Linked DNA regions of Homo sapiens: regions 1, 2 and 3 are each linked to region 4. Evidence: promoter capture Hi-C in 16 types of primary human blood cells and fetal thymus (Javierre and others, 2016). All regions are on one chromosome and are shown on one strand. Each heading gives the region's core, a stretch centred on a gene start or on the middle of the fragment in contact. The rest is flanking DNA. Distances are from core to core; before and after follow the strand shown.

Region 1 (3,190 bases), core at 77-2,576, 430 kb after region 4:
TTAGCAGTTCTTACAGTAGTGGCTTGGTAGTGGTGAATTCTCTAAGCATTTGTTTGTCTGAAAAAGACTGTATCTTTCCTTCATTTATGAAGCTTAGTTTCACTGGATACAAAATTTTTGGCTGATACTTGTTCTGTTTAAGGAGGCTAGACAGAGGACCCCAATCGCTTCTAGCTTGTAGGGTTTCTGCTGAGAAATCTGCTGTTAATCTGATATGTCTTTCTTTATAGGTTATCTGATGCTTTTGTCTCACAGCTCTTAAAAATCTCTTCTTCATATTGACTTCAGATAACCTGGTGACTATGCGCCTAGGTGATGATCTTTTTGTGATGAATTTCCTTGGTGTTCTTTGAACTTCTTGTATTTGCATGTCTAGATCTCTAGCAAGGCCAGGAAAGTTTTTCTCAATTATTCCCTCAAATAAGTTTTCCAAACTTTTAGATTTCTCCTCTACCTTGGGAACACCAATTATTGTTAGATTTTATTGTTTAACATAATTCCAAGCTTCTTGGAGGCTTAGCTCATTTTTAAATTCTTTTTTGTTTGTCTTTGTTAGATTGGAATATTCAAAAGTCTTGTCTTTGAGGTCTGAAGTTCTTTCTTCTACTTGTTTGGTTCTATTGTTGTAATTTCCCACTATAATTTGCATTTCTTTAAGTGTGCCTTTCATTTCCAGAAGTCATGGTTGTTTTCTATTTATGCTATCTATTTCTCTGGAGATTTTTTTCATCCATATCCTGTATTTTTTAAAAATTTCATTAAGTTAGTATTCACCTTTCTGTAGTGTCTCTTTAAGTGGCTTAATAATGGAATTTATGAATTCTTTCTCTGGCAATTCAGGGATTTTTTTCTTGGTTTGGATCCACTGCTAGTGAGCTTGTGTGGTCCTTTGAAGGTGTTAAAAAAAATTCTTGCTTTTGGCCAAGCATGGTGGCTCACAGCTGTAATCCCAGCACTTTGGGAGGCTGAGGCGGGTGGAACATGAGGTCAGGAGATCGAGACCATCCTGGCTATCACGGTGAAACCCCATATCTACTAAAAAAACAAAAAGCTAGCCAGGTGTTGTGGTGGGTACCTGTAGTTCCAGCTGCTTGGGAGGCTGAGGAAGGAGAACGGCATGAACCTGGGAGGCGGAGCTTGCAGTGAGCCGAGATCATGCCACTGCACTCCAGCCTGGGCGACAGAGTGAGGCTCTGTAACCAAAAAAAAAAAAAAAAAAAAAAAATTATTGCTTTTTTATATTACCAGAATTTTGTTTTGGTTCCTTCTCATTTGGGTAGTCTATGTCAGAAGTAAGACCTGAGGCTCTAGGCTGCTGTTCAGATTCTTTTGTTTCATGGGGTGATCCCTTGATGTGATGGTCTCCCCTTTTCCCTTGGGATGGGGCTTCCTGAGAGTCAGACTGCAGGGATTGTTATTGCTCTTCTGGGTTTAACCACCCAGTGGAGCTACTGGTCTCTGGGCTGGTACTGGGGAGTATCTGCAAAGAGTCCTGTGATGTGATCTGTCTTCAGGTTTCTCAGCCATGGATAATACCACCTGCTCTGGTAGAGGTAGCAGGGGACTAAAGTGGACTCTGTGAGGGTCCTTGGTTGTAATTCAGTTTAGTGCACTGGTTTTTTTGAATGCAGGTTGTTCTAGCAGTGAAGTTGTCACATGGACAGACTGAAGACTTCTGTGTAGCCAGGATGTTACAATGTTACAGGTGGAATTAGCTGTTGTTTTCTCCTTTATTGGAGTGGGTTTTTTTTTTTTTTTTTTTTGAGATGGAGTTTCACTCTTGTTGCCCAGGCTGGAGTGCAGTGGCACGACCTTGGCTCACTGCAACCTTGGCCTCCTGGGTTCAAGTGATTCTCCTGCCTCAGCCTCCTGAGTAGCTGGGATTACAGGCATGTTCCACCATGCCTGGTTAATTTTACATTTTTAGTAGCGAGGGGGTTTCTCCATTTTTGTCAGGCTGGTCTCAAACTCCTGACCTCAGGTGATCCACCCACCTCAGCCTCCCATAGTGCTGTGATTATGGGTGTGAGCCACCCCACCTGGCAGGGGTCATTATTTTGTGAGTTACTGTAAGGGCTTGAGTTGGTTGGCCTCCAACCTGGAGGTGGCAGCTTTAAGACAGCATCAGCTGTGGTAATATGGGGGTATGCAAGCTTGCCACCAGGTCACCTGGATAAGTATTCATGTTTTTCAGGCAATGAGTGGGAACATAGAGCTCCCAAGAGAGTATGTCTTTTGTCCTCAGCTACCAGGGTGGGTAGAGTAAGACCATCAGGTGAGGGCAGGGTTGGACATGTCTGAGCTCAGACCCTCCTTGGGTGGGGCTTGCTGCAGCTGCTGTGGGGTTGGGAGTATGGTTCTCAGGCCAATGGAGTTATGTTTCCAGGGGGATTATGGCTGCCTCTGCTGTATCATATAGGTCAGGATGGAAGTGAAGGAAAGCCAGCAGTGACAGGCCTCACTCAGCTCCCATGAAGCCAGCAAGGCCAGTTTCACTCACACCCTACCCACCAACAGCATCAAGTTTATATCCAGTTGGTGAGCAGTACTGAGATCTTGCCCCAGGCTATAAGCCTCCCCATTGAGAAAGCAACCTGGGCTTTCAGGCCCCACCCCTCACCACCTGCCATGGATTCTGTGCCCATATCTGTGCTTCCCATTCACTGTCCCCTCACCGATTCTGCCAAGGAAAATTCACACTAGGTCAAAACTATTACAAAGTTTAGCTGGCAGTTTCCTTCTCCCTGTGGTTCTTCCCCAATTCCACTGGCAGCCCGTCCCAAGGACCCCTGTGAGATAAAGTCAGAAACGGCTTCCCTGAGGACCAAGAGTGCCTGTAGGGCTCTTCCCACTGCTTCTTCTACTTTTATATTTTGCTTGGCTCTCTAAGTTCATTTCGGCTCTAGGTGAGGTTAAATGCTTCTCTGGTGATCTGGATTTTCAGGTTTTGAGTATGTGTGTTTAGAGGTGAATGTTCCGTCTCTTACACTTTTGGCACTTTCTGTTTTTCAGTTGTCTCGCAGAGGTTGCAGTGGCAAGCCACTTCTTTCAAAGAGTCTGTGCATTCTTTTGGTTTTCCTGGTATGTTTCTATGGTAGTTCTTGGAGCAAAAGTTCATGATGAGAGTCTCCACATGCTGTTCTGTCCATCCAAGTGGGAGATACAAGTTAGTCCTGTCTCCTAGCCACCA
Region 2 (3,089 bases), core at 176-2,675, 370 kb after region 4:
GACTCTTGTATCTTCAGATTTGAAACTGATTCAGAAACTATGGAGCCCAGAAACCCAATCAGAGTAACATGTGTGTGCTGAGTAGACATAGAGACATGAGAATCTCCACTTTCCCCTTCCTCCTCTTGCTAAATGCTCACAAATGTACAGGTAAACACCTGTGGCTACTCCAGTCGTTCAGGCCCTAAACTTGAAGCTCCAAATTTTGAATCCAGGTCTTGAGATTTGGGGGAAAAAAAAACTTACCTAAGAAATGCAAGTCCCTTTGGTTATCAAACTCAGACATTAAAATGAAAGTACTGTTATGTCTTTCTCCCCCCTTTGAACTATGTATTCATCTCTTGAAACTGTTCACTATTGCCACAAGTAATTATAAATTAAACTAATAATGCCACATTAGACACTATATCCCATACCCTAAACCATAATAATATATATGTAATCAATAATCGATGTTATTTCTGTAAATAAATAAAAATTTCTGACAATCAACTTTGTATCAGCCCACTCTCTGTCCCTGTCTTGTTGTCTTTACAAATTGTCTTGTAACTGCTGGTAATCAAAATGCAGATTCCAGGCAACTTGAATCTTTGCTCCCAGGTTATAATCCTTAAGCTTGACCCAAGTAAACTATCTACTTATATTCATGTTCTTTCAGCTTTTTTTTTTTTTTTTCATGTAGACTTACCATTTAGAATGTGCTAGAGTAGTCTCTATGAGGGGATCTCTCCTTTGATTGTATTCCACTTGCTGTAACACCAAAGGATGCAGAGCCAGGTGGATCCTACCTGGAATCTGCAGATAAGGTCTGGCCTCTGCCTGGGATTTACAAGAAAGGACCAGAACTTGGATTGAGAATGTACAGAAAATGAACAAAAGTCATTTTCTGCATTGTGAATGTAAACATAGACATCTTACAGCCCCCATTTGGGAGTGTGGCTCTTTGAGATTTTCACATCTTGTTCATTGACCTGCTACAGTTATGTGAGGGGCTCCAGGAGAAATAGACTCAGATGGCAGAATCTGTAAGTGTAAATAAGCATCTTAGGAGTGAGAGATCGGGGCCACAAAGTATCCAGAGCCATGACCACAATTATATTTAGCTGTAAAATGTAATACTAGAGTAGAGTATTTTTGATCTTTCTCTTACCCAAGAGCTAGCAAATCAGAATGGGTGATCCAGGTTCTGGAGCTCCACCAGGGCAGTTCCATTTTCTATTCAGAGTTAGCCTGAGTCTCTCCAGCCTGGCTTATCATTGGGCCATGAGGCCTGGGTCACTGGGAATCTCTCACAATCACCCAGGTGTCTTTGAGGCATTTGAGGATGTCCAGAGCAGAATTTTGTCAGGCTGACAAGAGTGGTTAATTCTGCTTCTGTCTCAGTGTAAGAGAAATGAGTCATCCTGTGTTTGTTCATTCCCTCATACAAGAGATATCTTTGGTTGGTACCCCGATGACAGCTTCTCCAGTTTCCTGGTACTTGGATAATAAGGAGAAGATCTGGAGACCCAGATAGATAAACTAGCTCCTTCCACTTCATATGGGCATTAAAAAAATACATGAAGCAGTCATAGTTCCTACAATCCAGAAACTTTTAGTCTAGACTAGCTACTGGATAAGTAATTGAAGTGTGCATCATATGGTTGGTATAATAAATAGATGTGTTAAAAATCTTGGGCTTTAGACCACTTTCTTTATATTGTTGTGACTTCTGATGTCTACACCTGAAGGGAGATTTATGAACAAAATAATTGTTATAAATTCTTTTTTTTTTTTGAGATGGTGTTTCACTCTGTCACCTGGTCTGGCTTGCAGTGGCACGATCTCGGCTCACTGTAAACTCTGCCGCCCGGGTTCAGGTGACTTTCCCTTCTCAGCCTCCCGAGTAGCTGGGATTACAGTTGCCTGCCACTGCACCTAGCTAATTTTTGTATTTTTACTAGAGGCGGGGTTTCATCATCTGGATCAGGCTGGTCTTTAACTGCTTGACCTCGTTCTGCACCCGCCTTGGTCTCCCAAAGTCTTGAGATTACAAGCATGACCCACCGCGCTTGGCCGTATATTTTCTATTTCTTTTACCTTGCTAACTGTAGATATTTATTTTCTAATAAAATTACCCTAGAAAACCTTAAGGGATTTGTTTAAGTTGCATACTAGTATATAGTATAAAGTTGTCAGGGCAGTGACTAGAAAAGATAAAAACTACAGAAACTCTGGGATTTAAGTTTCTTTTAGGTAAGCTTAGAAACAAAACAAAACTGGAAGTTTCCTAGTTGCATAGAGAACAGAATTCTACATAGGGTTCTCACCCTGCCCCAGACGTGTTCAGATTCATCCTTTTTGGAGACCTTAGTTAGGTCTGAACCTACCCTGGAGTATTGCCTCACAGAACTCATTAAAGGAGATCAGAGTTTTGGCTGCTGAATCCTGCTGCCTTTCTAGAGCTGGTGCTCACAATTTCCTGAAATTCAAAAGCAGATAAATCGGGAAAAAAAGTATGTTTTGTAAGGTGTTTGTTTTTAAATTTTTTATTAAAACCAGTGCTTGCAGAGACATTGTATTTAGCAACTTGTTTTCTATTCCTGCAGATCCAGTAGTTGCTGCACAAGTCAAAAAAGTAAATATAAACAGAATGAAATTTTCTCTAGACTACATTAAACTCTTCTGTATCTCTTTCATCTGTCTATATTTAGCTTTTATTCTATACAATTTTTTAAAAAATTTGATGACAGAGAAACAGAAGAAAAAATAAAAATGGGCCCTTTATCTAAATCCTGAAAATTAAGAAACACTTAGTACCAGCTCCCCGGGTGTTAAGAGAATTAAATCATATAATGTGTTATGCCCAGCACCGTGCTCTGTATCATACTCTAGCACATAGTGCCTGCTTAATAAACATTGCATTAGTACCTGTGTACATGTTCTTTTTAAAATACAGACTTATTCAGATATTGCTGTCTTCTGTTTCCTCTGTAAATTTTAAAGAGCCAGCAAAAAATATAAAACTTTTAAATGGAATGGGCTGTCCTTATTTTTACTAGAAGTATTTGGTTATGGCAAGAGTGTTAAGTGTAAGGGACCCTGTGCTG
Region 3 (3,491 bases), core at 700-3,199, 320 kb after region 4:
CTGAGGACACATCATCCTACAAAGTTTCCAAAGGGTAATCTTGACCCAAAAACATTCCGGTAAGTTCTCTGGAAAAATAAAAGAAAAAGAGGCGCCAGACACGGTGGCTCACACCTGTAATCCCAGCACTTTGGAACGCAGAGGCGGGCGGATCACGAGGTCAAGAGATCCAGGCCATCCTGGCCAACATGGTGAAACCTCTCTAGCTGGGCATGGTGGCACATGACTGTAGTTCCAGCTACTCAGGAGGCTGAGGCAGGATAATTGCTTGAACCCGGGAGGTGGAGGTTGCAGTGAGCCCAGATCGCGCGGCTGCACAACTGTAGGACCTCACTCCAGTCTGGCAACAGAGCGAAAACTCTGTCTCAAAAAGCAAAACAAAAAAAAGAAAAAAGAAAAAGACACAAATATTTTTTACAATACAGTGTCAGGGGATTATTCTTTGCTTTCTTCTCCTGGGAAATATTTACAAACAGAAAACAAATATTTTCAATAGTGTTATGCCATGCTTTTTAAAGAATGATTAATTGAGGAACATGGGGTACACTTGAGGCCCTGCTTGGGACACATGTGAAAAATGCCAGGGAAAAATCAGTTCCCTGTGAGGTGTGAAAATAATTAATTGCACTTTTTGTTAAATTACTATATTAAGGGAAATAAAATTCAAGCTTACACAACTATAAACTGCCAATTAAGCTCTGAATCATAACTAGGACATTTCCACCTCGATTGTACAAAATAAGAAACTACGTAACTATACCTAACCAACGATTGAATATGGTTTTCTTCATCATGCACCTTATAAATGTCTTTCCTTCAAGCCCCTACCATGGACCATAAAGTACAAACTATAGCTGGGTGCTCAACAATTCTTGAATCACTCTTTAATTAAATTATTTGATATTTTTGCGGCGACTCTCATATTTTTTTTTTTTAGACAGAGTTTTGCTCTGTCGCCCAGGCTGGAGTGCAGTGGTAAGATATCAGCCCCTGCAACCTCTGCCTCTTGGGTTCAAGCGATTCTGTCACCTCTGCCTTCCAAGTAGCTGGGATTACAGACATTCGCCATCACACCCAGCTAATTTTTGTATTTTTAGTAGAGATGGGGTTTCCTCATTTTGACCAGGCTCGTCTTCAACTCCTGACCTCAAGTGATCCGCCCGCCTCGGCCTCCCAAAGTGCTAGGATTCCAGGCGTGAGCCACCGCGCAAGGGCCCATACATTTTTAATAGGAGAAAAGGGAAACTGTGAAGACCAAGCACCAAAGCTCTTCCCATTCATGAACTTGCATCCTGAGTCAGGATTCTCCCCTGAGGACCCTCCCGTGGTCCCTGCACGATCTGGGAGACACGTGGCGCTGTGGGTGCAGAGCTGCCCGGAGAGGGCTCCAGGCCAGGGCACAGTCACTGCGAGGGGAAGAGACAGGACGCCGGGGGGCCCGGGTGTGAGCGCAGCCTCCATCTTACGGCTGAAAGGGACTGAGGCCGAGCTGGGCAAGGAGAACTTGGGGCGCAGATTGCGGAGCTGACTGCGGGGAGGCCTGAGTCCCGCCACAGCCACTTCCCACCGGTTCCAACCAGTTCCTCCCCTGCTCTCGTGATGTCCGACGGCACTCACCATTTCTAGGCTTCCAGGAGGTCCTGGCGTCTTAGCTGTGGATCTCCCAAAACCGTCAGGTCACAGGGCTGGGCCTCCAGCAGCAGAGGACACAGAGTAGTGAAGATGAGACCTGGAGCTCCAGGTGCAGTGAGAGACAAAGGCCCCGCCAAACTCGGAAGTCGACCTGTTCGCTCCAGCTGGGTGTCTGATTGGACGGTTTCCAGCCCAGTGTCCCTGATTGGATAATGCTTAAGGCCTCGCCCCTTCAGGACCTAGTGAGAGAAGATGTGATAAGATGCTGCGCTGAGCAATGAAAGAGTCACAGCCTAAGCTGCATCTTTTTCAGGCAGGGCTTTCTCCCAGAGCTGAGCCAGGCCCACCCCAGAGCATGGGAAAATTCTATCTCTTTTTTGCTCTCTCTTTTTGAATGTATTCGAAAGGTGAACGGAAGTACTTTGCTGTTATATTAATAATACGTAAAATTTTTGTTCAAGAGAAAATCAACTTTTACTTTGGTAATAGTGTATTATCAATACTAAAGCTAATTTTAATAAAACCTTATAAACAAATCAAATTTGTCATTTTTGACCTTTCGAGATTTGCATATATATTTTGTAATCTCTTGTAATTTTTAAACTATTTATATTTTACTTATATCTACATTCCTTTTATTTTTTCAATTTGAAACAACCTTTAAGTAATTTCAAACTGCTATAGGAGATAGAAAGCATTTAGGGACAGGGACTGTGGCTCACGCCTCTAATCCCAGCACTTTGAGAGGCCAAGGTGGGCAGACTACTTGAGGTCAGGAGTTAAAGACCAGCCTGGCCAATATGGTGAAACCCCATCTCTACTAAAAATACAAAAATTTAGCCGGGCATGCTGGTGCACACCTGTGGTCCCAGCTACTACAGAGGCCGAGGCAGAAGAATCGCTTGAACCCAGGAGGCAGAGGTTGTGTAAGGCCCAAGGGGTTCACCTTGCCCTTTGCCTAGACAGAGCTGATTCATCAAGACAGGGGAATTTGTGGAGGAAAAGTTAAATATTAAATTTGAACTCAATTGAACGTGGACACAAACAATGATCACCAAGTCCAGGAAGAGGTTGTGTGAGACCTTTGATGCATTCATCCAGTGCTGTTTTGGAGAAATCTCTATTTCCATCTATTCCTATACTTTACTTATTGAAAAACGATAGACAATCACAAAAACAAGTTGACCTTTTTGTGTTCCTTGAGCCCAGTCACTAAGGGCCCTCGTGACTGGGCTTTATGCCAAATAAAAGAGCTGGGATCCCAGATGGCGCCGAAGTTTCATGAGACCTCTCCTCGTCTGTGCGTGGACGAGTGGCCGACTCTGAAGCCCAGGCTGTGGCTTCCTGGTCTGGTGGTGAATCCTCCACAGTCTGGGGAGTGTGGTGTCTGACTCTGGATCCCAGGGCTGGAAACTCAAGGACTTCCTATATCCCAGTTCTCCCCCTTGTCATGCCCCATCTGGTGAGTTTTGGGGGAACTCATGACCCAAGTCATAATAGGAATTTCAGGCCTCATAAAGACATCATGGTTGAAGCAGAGGTGTTCTGTTTCCAGCAAAGCCCTATAGGAAGCTAACAATTGCTTCTAGAAAGAGGTATAAGCTTTGCCGGCCTATGACAGTTTCTGGGTCCAAAACCTGAAATGTACCTCTTCCCATCTTGTTTCTGCCTAACGCTCCAATTAGCATGTTGATCTAGGACAGTTACTTGCAGTTCTACTGGCCCATCCCGTATGGAGCATAGATCCAGGGCCAGCAGCACCACTTGTTTAGCTTGTTCAGAAGCCATGCTCTCCTTCTTTCCCCAGTGAAAGTCATAGTGTTTTCTAGTGGCTGCATGCAGAGGTTGTAAAATGTTAC
Region 4 (2,989 bases), core at 351-2,850:
AGAGACTGTATCTTAAAAACAAACAGGCTGGGCGCAATGGCTCACACCCATAATCCTAGCACTTTGGGAGGCCGAGGTGGGCAGATCACAAGGTCAGGAGTTCGAGACCAGCCTGGCCAATATGGTGAAACTCCATCTCTACTAAATATACAAAAATTAGCCAGGCATGGTGGCGTGTGCCTGTAGTCCCAGCTACTCGGGAGGCTGAGACAGGAGAATTGCTTGAACCCGTGTGGCAGAGGTTGCAGTGAGCCGAGATTGCACCATTGCACTCCAGCCTGGGTGACTGAAGACAGAGGCTGGGTCAGATGGAGGAGGGCGATTGAATAGTAGGATAGGAGCAGAAGCAGAAAGTCTGAGTGCAGAAGCTCTGGTCTGATTGGGAGGGAAACACCTCCAAGGACTGGGAGAGACTTGTCTGAGGGCGGAGGCAGAGTTCTAGGGGGCGACAAGTCTCACCAGGACCCATGTGCCAGAGAGAAAAGGCTGGGTCTGATGGGGGAGGGGAAGTGGGGGTGGGGCAGCAGGACTCTGGTCTGAGGGCAGAGGCTCAGTGTTGGAGGGGAGAGGAGAGGAGGCAGGGACAGGATGGACTCTAGGCTGAGGGCAGGCCACCCTCCCAGTTCCCAATCCCCCCGGACCCTCCTCCCTCAGGCTGGGACGCAGAGACCGGCAGCGATTCGGAGGACGGGCTGCGGCCTGACGTGCTGGTGTCTCTCGCGGCGCCCAAGCGCTGCGCTGGCCGCTTCTCCGGGCGCCACCACTTCGTGGCCGGCAGGTTCGTGCCCGATGACGTGCGCCGCAAGTTCGCTCTGCGCCTGCCGGGATACACGGGCACCGACTGCGTCGCGGCACTGTGACCGCCACCCGCGGCCACACCGCAGGGACCCTCGCCAATAAACAGCCCTCCCACCACCGCCGCCTCGCCTCCGCCTCCTTTGTGCACCGGGCCCGCTGCGGGGGTGGGCACACTCGAAGAGGGACTTCACACGGTCCCTGGGTGATCCAAGGCGGGGAGCATGAGAAGGGCGGTGGAGTGGGACTTCCCGCTGGCCTAGAAAACTTCAGCTAGGGCTGGGGGCGGTGGCTCCTGCCTGTAATCTCAGCACTTTGGGAGGCTGAGGCTGGAGGATCGCTTAAGGCCAGGAGTTTGGGACCAGCCTGGGCAACATAGCAAGATCCCGACTCTACAAATTAAAAGAAAAAGAAGAAAGAAAACTCGAGCCAGAAGAATGGAGGGTAGATTCAGGGTGGGACTCCCAGACTGTTTGGGGTGGCCTAAAGCCTATAGGATCGAAGTGAGACGCGAGACAGGACTTCCAGCCACCTAAAGCGGGTCCGAGCAGCTTGAGGCTGGATTCCAAGTGACACTTCCCTCAGGCAGCTTGGGATGCAGCTTGGAGGACTGAGTGGGCTCGGGGAGGGAGTTCCAGCAGGCCACGGGGAACCCAGGACAGCCTGAGGACGGAGGCACAGCCAGACGCACCAAGGGGGGCGACCCAGAGGGGTTGCTCGAGCGCCGTCACCCAGGGCCAGGGGGCGTGGCCTGAATGGGGCGTGGCCAGGGCGGGATCTGCGGTCGCATCCCGCCCCCACTCTCAGTCCCAGCGGCCGCCAGACCCGCCGGAGTTGGACCCGAGCACGCCGCGGAGCCCGGACCCTCCCTCGGACGCTCTGCCCCGGCCATGGCGTCGCTGCTGCCACTGCTCTGTCTCTGTGTCGTCGCTGCGCACCTGGCGGGGGCCCGAGGTGAGGCGCCTCCAGCCCCCGCGCCCAGCCCCTGAGGCTCCCGAGGGCCTGGCAGCCGGCCTTGGGTGAAGCCGCACTCGGGGAGAGAACCCAGGGACCCACGCGCTTCCCCGGGGACTGGGTCCCCTTCACCAGTCGGATCCCCGCGACCACCTGGGGCGCGGAGCGGGCCTCATCCATTCTCTTCCTTGGCTAAGCCGGGAGTGTGGATAAGAACCTAGGGTTCCTCCCGGGGTTTGGACTCTGAATCACCGGCCAGGTCTCCCACCCTGGACCGAAGGGGTCGGAACTGGCCCCTCCCACCTAACTCCCACACACGCACTCACTCCAACCGCTGGAGAAAGAAATGCCCATCCCTGGAACACTCAATGGGGCGGGGGACGGGCCCACTTCTCAAGTGAGGAGACTGAGGCACCCAGAAGGAAGGGGCTTGTCTGACCTCATCACTCTGCTGGGAGTATCTTGGACAGCTCCTATCTTGGAGAAGCCAGTCTAGATTCCAAGGACTTCCCGGCAGCTCGGACTGTAGTACAGGGATGGAAGACAGACTAAGGGAGGGGCTTCCAGCAGGCCAAGTGGATGAGGGGGAGCCCAGCCTGAGGGCAGAGGCACAGCCAGCTGAACTTGATTGATCTCGCGGCAGCTGAACATAGTGGGAGGGAGACTCTAGCCTAGGGGAACTGGGTGGTACTTGCACTTCCCCAGCCGGGGGGTTAGGGCTAGGTCAGAGAGAGGTACCTGGCTTTGGGGGCCTGGTGGTGGTCATGGGCAGCGCGCTGGAGGAGAGTGTATGGCAGCCCTTGGGGCTAGAGCTGGGTTCTGGCCTCTCAGAGCCTCAATTTTCCCTCCTGTTAAAATGGGGATCATGGGCCAAGCACGGTGGCTCACGCCTGTAATCCCAGCACTTTGGGAGGCCGAGGCGGGCGGACTACCTGAGGTCAGGAGTTTGAGACCAACCTGGCCAACATGGTGAAACCCCGTCTCTACTAAAAATATAAAAATTAGCTAGGCCTGGTGGAGCGTGCCTGTAATCCCAGCTACTCAGGAGGCTGAGGTGTGAGAATCACTTGAACCCAGGAGGCAGAGGCTGCAGTGAGCCGAGATCGTGCCACTGCACTCCAGCCTGGGTGACAGAGGGAGATTCCGTCTCAAAAAAAAAAAAAAAAAGGGGGGGGATGATCGTGGCTGCACCTTGCCTAAAAGGAGGCTCCCAGCGGTCCCCATCAGTAGCAGCGTGCTT

Evidence for each region. Contacts are between HindIII fragments. The CHiCAGO score rates a contact against its expected background, and 5 or more counts as called.
Region 1: a contact is called between a fragment that was not itself captured here and the fragment with the promoter of CILP2 in region 4, in 3 of 17 cell types (non-activated CD4 T cells, total CD8 T cells and activated CD4 T cells). The highest score is 6.7, in non-activated CD4 T cells.
Region 2: a fragment that was not itself captured here is called in contact with the fragment with the promoter of CILP2 in region 4 in 1 of 17 cell types (non-activated CD4 T cells); the score reaches 5.4 in non-activated CD4 T cells.
Region 3: a contact is called between a fragment that was not itself captured here and the fragment with the promoter of CILP2 in region 4, in 1 of 17 cell types (non-activated CD4 T cells). The highest score is 5.4, in non-activated CD4 T cells.

What each region holds. Positions count from the first base shown.
Region 1 is chr19:19,969,088-19,972,277 of GRCh38, forward strand. It overlaps the pseudogene BNIP3P12. Among named protein-coding and RNA genes, the nearest start is that of ZNF682, 69 kb to the right of the region's middle. The HindIII fragment of the contact is 1,649 bases long and covers 503-2,151 here.
Region 2 is chr19:19,909,992-19,913,080 of GRCh38, forward strand. The region is part of intron 1 of ZNF93 (zinc finger protein 93); the gene reads left to right. Among named protein-coding and RNA genes, the nearest start is that of ZNF93, 11 kb to the left of the region's middle. The HindIII fragment of the contact is 1,625 bases long and covers 614-2,238 here.
Region 3 is chr19:19,859,446-19,862,936 of GRCh38, forward strand. LOC124904664 (a long non-coding RNA gene) reads right to left here. Exons shown (of 4, transcript XR_007067169.1): 3 at 1,618-1,871. Among named protein-coding and RNA genes, the nearest start is that of ZNF253, 4.7 kb to the right of the region's middle. RefSeq lists an enhancer at 1,444-1,994. The HindIII fragment of the contact is 2,566 bases long and covers 667-3,232 here.
Region 4 is chr19:19,536,665-19,539,653 of GRCh38, forward strand. It overlaps CILP2 (cartilage intermediate layer protein 2), which reads left to right and starts at 1,601. Exons shown (of 8, transcript NM_153221.2): 1 at 1,601-1,749. The coding sequence starts at 1,686. YJEFN3 (YjeF N-terminal domain containing 3) reads left to right here. Exons shown (of 7, transcript NM_198537.4): 7 at 655-917. The coding sequence ends at 860. RefSeq lists a silencer at 1,477-1,846 and an enhancer at 2,939-2,989. The HindIII fragment of the contact is 27,377 bases long and covers 1-2,989 here.